Regions from separate parts of the Homo sapiens genome. Here region 1 is linked to region 2. The links are contacts of gene promoters, found by promoter capture Hi-C in human tissues and cell types (Jung and others, 2019). All regions are on one chromosome and are shown on one strand. The core of a region is centred on a gene start or on the middle of the fragment in contact, and the rest is flanking DNA. Distances in the headings are between cores, read along the strand shown.

Region 1 (2,754 bases), core at 24-2,523, 400 kb after region 2:
TATTTTTATTTTTTTGTAGAGACAGAGTCTCACTATGTTGCCTAGGCTGGTCTCAAACTCCTGGGCTCAAATGATCCTCCCACATTGGTCTCCCAAAGTGCTGGGATTATAGGTGTGAGCCACTGTGCCCCGTCTCTTTTGTCTGGTGTGGGCCAGTATGCAAACACTCACCTTCTATATTTCGCTGGTTAGCCTTGACTTCATATGCAATAAGATCTGGAAAGGAAGATAAGAAGTAGCCCCTTTCTTCTTCCTCTGATCTCTTAATTTAAATTCGGCCAGGAAGTGAGCATCACAATTCGTTTTCCAAAGTCACAGGAGCCTGAGGTCCCCTGCCATCCCGCCCTCACACCTTATCTTGGTGTGTTAAACGCCCATACCTGGGGGAAGACTGTGGGTGGGGAACCTCCTGCCCCAGCCCGGGTGCCTGAATAATGCATGAATACTCCAGAAGCCTGGAACTCCAGACCTCATCCAGGCCTGGGATCAGCATCCTAAGTGACTGGTCCAATAAGCAGATGAGCCCTCACCTCTGCCTGTCCCGGGTGAAACGGAGCTTGAGAGCTCACTGGATCCCACCAAAATCACGTCCATGCTGGGCTCGGCCTCTGGGTCCAGGGCTGGGATGGCCGCCATGGGGATGCTGTGTCAGGACACACGGACACAGATGTGAGAAAGCCGTCAGCCCCTGCTCAGATCCCTGATGCACCCCAGCACGGGAAGCAGCTTGCTGAGCAGACCTTGACTAGTTCAGGCCACCTGAACCCCCGCGGTGACACCCACCTGCCCAACCCAGGGATGAGGGGCAGGACAGCCAAGGCCAGTGCCAGCCCTGAGAGGGGCTCAAGGGTCCCCTGAGGCGTGCCCCCCACCTGCCTGGCCCTGTTACAACATGGAAGATGGGGCAAAAAGGGGAGGGCAGGGCCCTCATGAGGACCTGGGGCCAATGGCCGCTGCAGCCCCTGCTTTCCTCTGGGCCCAGCCTTCGACCCCTCAGGGACTCCCATGCCCCAGCCTCCTACAGTGTCCCTCAGGCCCAGCAGGGACCCCTGGGGATGGTCTTGGCCAGCCGCACCCTTGAAGGCAGCATGGTCAGGGAGTAGGAAAGAGACTCACAGGGCTGCTGCCACGGCTCCGGGTACAGCCAGCTGGTGGGTTCAAGGTTCCAGTGGTCCGGGGCTTCCAGGCTCAGGGTCCCCGGGGAGGACTGGGCCATGGAACGAGGGACGGCGCAGGCAAAGAATGAGCTGGAAGGATCCAGGCCCACCTGGGACAGCGGGTGGCCAGAGGTCACCAGGCTATGGGGGCAAAGAATCTGGGCGTGTCCCGCGGGGGCGGGGAGGGGCGGGGGCGGGGCAGCCCTTCAGTGCCGGTTTGCAGTGGGAGGGGCGAGGAGCTGCGGGGGGTCACTTGGGGTGGGGAGCTAGGAAGCTGGGGGACGGGCAGGGAAAGGGAACCCTCAGGTGGGGAGGGTTAAGAGCTCAGTGGGGCTGGGGGATTGGGGTTCAGAGGATGGGGCCCTCAGGGTGGAGTGAGGGGTGGGGTTTGGGGACCTCAGTGGGGAGTGGGGTTCAGGGGAGGGGTGGAGATGGGAGGACTGGGGATGGGGCAGATGAGGGGGGTTTCAGTAGAGGGGGGCCCTTGGGGTGGGGTGGGGGATAGGGGTGGCTGTGGGGTAGGGGCAGGGCGCTCAGAGGTGGGGTTTAGGAAGGTCATAGGGGTGGGCTTCAGGGCAAGGGTGAAGAAAGGGATGAGGGTGGAGGGTGGAGGGGTGGAGGGGTGGAGGGTGGAGGGTGGAGGGTGGAGGTAGGGCAGGGCGGGGGGTTAGGTGGAGTTGGCCCCCTGGGTGGAGATGGGTGAGGATTAGTGGAGGTGGCCCTCAGGGCAGGGTGGGTGGGTGGAGGGCGGGGCTTAGGGAGATCTGTTGGGGGATTAGGGAGTGGGGGTGGGGGTGGATGCTGAGTTGGAGATGGGGGCCTTCAGGGGAGGTGGTCCTTTGGCGGGATGGGGGTGATGATAGGGTGAGGGTGGGCACTCCGGGGCAGGGCTCAGTGGCGGGGGTCGGGGCTCAGGGCAAGGGTAGAGACGGGGTGAAAGTAGGAATGGGGGTGTGAGGCCGAGGATGGGGGTTTCAGGGGAGGTGGCCTTTAGGGCAGGATAGGGGTGAGAATGGGGTGGGGATGGGCCTCAGGGATCTCAGGGTCGGTTGGGATGGGAGTGGGGGTGGGGGTAGATGGTGAGGAGGAGATGGGGGTGTTCAGGGGAGGTGGTCCTCTGGCGGGATAGAGGGAGGGGCGTTCAGGAGCCGGGCTTGGGAGCTCAGTCTGGAGCCCCAGGTTTGGGGGGCAGCTGTGGGGGAGAGAAGGAAACAGGGAAGGCCCTGGAGGATGGGGTAAGGGGTGTTGGGTGGGGAATGTCAGGGCAGGTGGGGGGTTGGGGAGCTGGGAGGGGTAGGTTCAGGGTGGGGGTGGAACGTGGAAGCAGGGAAGGGAGCAGGAAGGTGGGGTGGGCAGAGGGGCAGTGTGGGAGGTGCGGGGTGGGTTGGGAAGGGGGACTTTGTTGGAGGGAGGTTAGGGGCTTCAGAGCAGGGGGCGGAGGACCGCCGGGCAGGGCTGGAGCCACAGGACAATTGTGCTGGTCGAAAGTGGGAGAAGACCCTTGCGGGAGGTAACCCCCCTGAAGTGTGGGCTGGGCCTGGTGACTTCCTTCTGCAAGTACTGCATGAGGGGTGACCACACAGGGGCAGCCTGATGA
Region 2 (2,870 bases), core at 325-2,824:
CCAAAATGACATGAGGGGTGAGAGGTTTTACAAATGGTGAATTCCACGAGCTTTGCAAATCTTAACTCCTTTTTCAAGAATAAGGGAACTGTGAGTAGGACAGGTGCACGGTACTTTCATTTTATTTTAGTCTAAGTATTTTCTGAAATAATTTGAGGAGGCTTAAAGGGAGGTGCAAGCTGGGTGCGGGGGCTCATACTTGTAATCCCAGCACTTTGAGAGGAGGAGGTGGGAGAATACTTGAGCTCAGGAGTTCGAGATCAGCCTGGGCAACACCGTGAGGCCCCATTTCTACAAAAAAAATTTTTTTTAAATTAGCCAGACATGGTGGTGTGTGCCTGTGGTCCCAGCTACTTGGGAGGCTGAGGTGGGAGGATCACTTGAGCCCTGGAGTTCAAGGCTTCAGCGAGCTATGATTGTACCACTGCACTCCAGGGTGGGCGACAGAGCAAGACCCTGTCTCAATAATAATAAAAATAAAAAAAAAAAAAAGGAAAAAAAGGGGCACAGTAGACAGTACCAGTACTTGGTATTTTAAATGGTTTTCAAATGAAGCCCACCCAAGCTCAGCAAGTCCAGCCGGGGCCTGAGGACCTGAGCAGGCGCCAGGTCACACAAGGTACCGGGCGCAGGAGGCGGAGCCCGCAGCGGGCCCTGCCCTGACAGCGGCACCTGCGCGGCCTCCGCAGGTTCTGGGATCGGCCGCTGGCCAGGTGCAAGGGAGGGGGGACGGCAGCCGCTGTCCTGGGGCTGAGAGGGCTCCGCGGTCTGGAGGGGACGGCGTCAGCGCCCGCGGGGGTTCGCAGGGCAGCCCCGGGGCGACCCCCACCCCCGCCACGGTCAAGTGTCGATACAGTGTTGCCAGCCGGGTGCCAACTATGAATAAGTCCAAGGGCGCGGCACGTGGGCCGAAACGCGATCCTTCCGCGGAGCCGCTGCGCGCAGGGCCGTCCCCACCGAGCCCGCCGCGCGGCGACCCCTGACGGCGACCCTAAGCCCCGGCCGACCAGGGCAGGAGCTCGCGCGCGAAACTTCCCCGGCGCCCGCAGGAGACCCCGGCAGGGGAGATGGCGGGGCCCAGGCAGAGCTCGGAGGCCCCTCCCGGCCCCACCCCGCGCCCCGGCCCCCTCTGCCCCCGACCCGGTCCGGGGGAGCCCTCGCGGGACCCCAGCCTGGTCCTTCGCCGCCTCCCCCCGTTCAGCCCCGACCCCCCTGATCCCCGCGCCCCCCGCGGTCCCGGCCCGCCCCCTCCCCCAGCCCGGGCCCCAGCCCCGTCCGTTAGCGGATCCCACGCAGGCTCCGCGCCCGGCCCCGCCGGCGCCCTCGGCCCACACCTCTCTCCGCGCGCGTGTCCCGCCGTGTCGCCCCCGTGTCCCCTCCGCGTCCCCCCCCGCGCCGTCCCCCCGCGTCCCCCCCCGCGTCCTTCCCCCGTGTCCCCCCAGCGTGTCCCTCGGCCGCCCCGCGCGCGCCGGCGGAACTGTGGGATCGCCGCGCACAGGAAGTGGCGGCGGCGGCGCGGCCGAGGGCGGAGGGCGGAGGGCGGCGGGATGGGGGCCGGGGGCGGCGGGCGCCGCACTCGCTGAGGCCCCGACGCAGGGCCGGGCCGGGCCCAGGGCCGAGGAGCGCGGCGGCCAGAGCGGGGCCGCGGAGGCGACGCCGGGGACGCCCGCGCGACGAGCAGGTGGCGGCGGCTGCAGGTGAGCACCGAGGCCCCCACCCGAGGTCGGGCCGCCCCCCTCTTCCCCCACGCCCCGCCGCCGCCCGAGGTCGCCCTCCCGCCGCCGGAGGTCGCCCCTGCCCCAGCCGTCCGACCTCGGGCCGCCCGGGGCCCCGCGCCGCAATGGGCCGGCCGCGCTCCGCGGGGCGCGGGGCCTGGGAAGGCGCGGGGCCGGGAGGAGGTCTGGGCCCGGGTCCTGTGCGCCCCCCGCAACCCCGGCCTCCCCGGCGGCCTGGTCCAGCGCGAGGCCCCGGCCGCTTCCCGCAGCAGCCTCGGTGGCGCTGGGCCCAGCGGGGAGGCCCGGGGGTTCGGGGCGCCCGGGAGGGGCCCGGGCCGGGCCGAGGGAGGGCGAGTGGGTTCCCGCGGGGACGTCCCATCCCTCCGTCCTGGACTCTGCTCCGGGCCCCGCTCGGCTCCCCCGTGGACAGGACGCGCCCGCCGCCTGGTTTCGGGGCGCGGCGGACCCGGGACCCCCCCCAGGGGCCTCCTCCTCGCGCGCCCAGGCCAAGGGAGCAGTTTCACTTTTGCCGCTCCGCGCGGGGAGGGCTGCGGGGCCCGGGGTTGGCTGTGGGTTCGGCCCGGAGACCGGCGGCGCGTTTGCACCGGGCGGGTCAGGGGATGGGGTCAGTCCGGGGGCAAGAGCCGTGGGGGCGAAAACCCACTCCTGGCCACCCCAGGACCCTTGGAACATTGGTCCCAAGTACTTAGGAAAGGAGGGTTATTAGTATTTGAAGGCAGTTAAAAATGGTGCAGTGTTTTTTTTTTTTTTTTTAACTTTGAGAGAAGTTTAGTGACATGGGGAAAATGCTTTTATAAATGGCTTCCCAGACCTTTAAAAAAAAAAAAGCACAATTTTAAAAGCTTTGTCTAGGAGAATACTTGAGCAGTTGGGTTCTTTTTCCTGGGAAACATGATCTTAGTAGAAGAAAGATGTGGGCTGTTGGCCTCCAGACAGAGGGTGATGAGCATGCGGCTCTTATTAAAAATGAAAGCCAACGCCGAGAGCCTGCTGGGGGCTGGGAGGTGGGGCGGGCGGCGGGCCCAGGCTGCTAGAGGGACCCAGGATCCTGCAGCTTTTAAATTGCAGGCGCGGCTGCTCCGACTCGACTCGCTTAGGAATTGCTGAACTTCGTCTTCTCAGTTTGAAAGCTTC

Evidence for each region. Contacts are between HindIII fragments. The study calls those that stand out against the background at their distance.
Region 1: a contact is called between the fragment with the promoter of DNMT3L here and the fragment with the promoter of AGPAT3 in region 2, in 4 of the 25 tissues and cell types used here (adrenal gland, dorsolateral prefrontal cortex, heart right ventricle and 1 more).

What each region holds. Positions count from the first base shown.
Region 1 is chr21:44,260,624-44,263,377 of GRCh38, forward strand. DNMT3L (DNA methyltransferase 3 like) reads right to left here and starts at 1,274. Exons shown (of 12, transcript NM_175867.3): 1 at 1,117-1,274; 2 at 531-643; 3 at 172-216. The coding sequence starts at 636. RefSeq lists an enhancer at 989-1,548. The HindIII fragment of the contact is 12,940 bases long and covers 1-2,754 here.
Region 2 is chr21:43,863,649-43,866,518 of GRCh38, forward strand. AGPAT3 (1-acylglycerol-3-phosphate O-acyltransferase 3) reads left to right here and starts at 1,575. Exons shown (of 10, transcript NM_020132.5): 1 at 1,575-1,697. RefSeq lists silencers at 634-993, 1,544-1,893, 2,014-2,333. The HindIII fragment of the contact is 11,781 bases long and covers 1-2,870 here.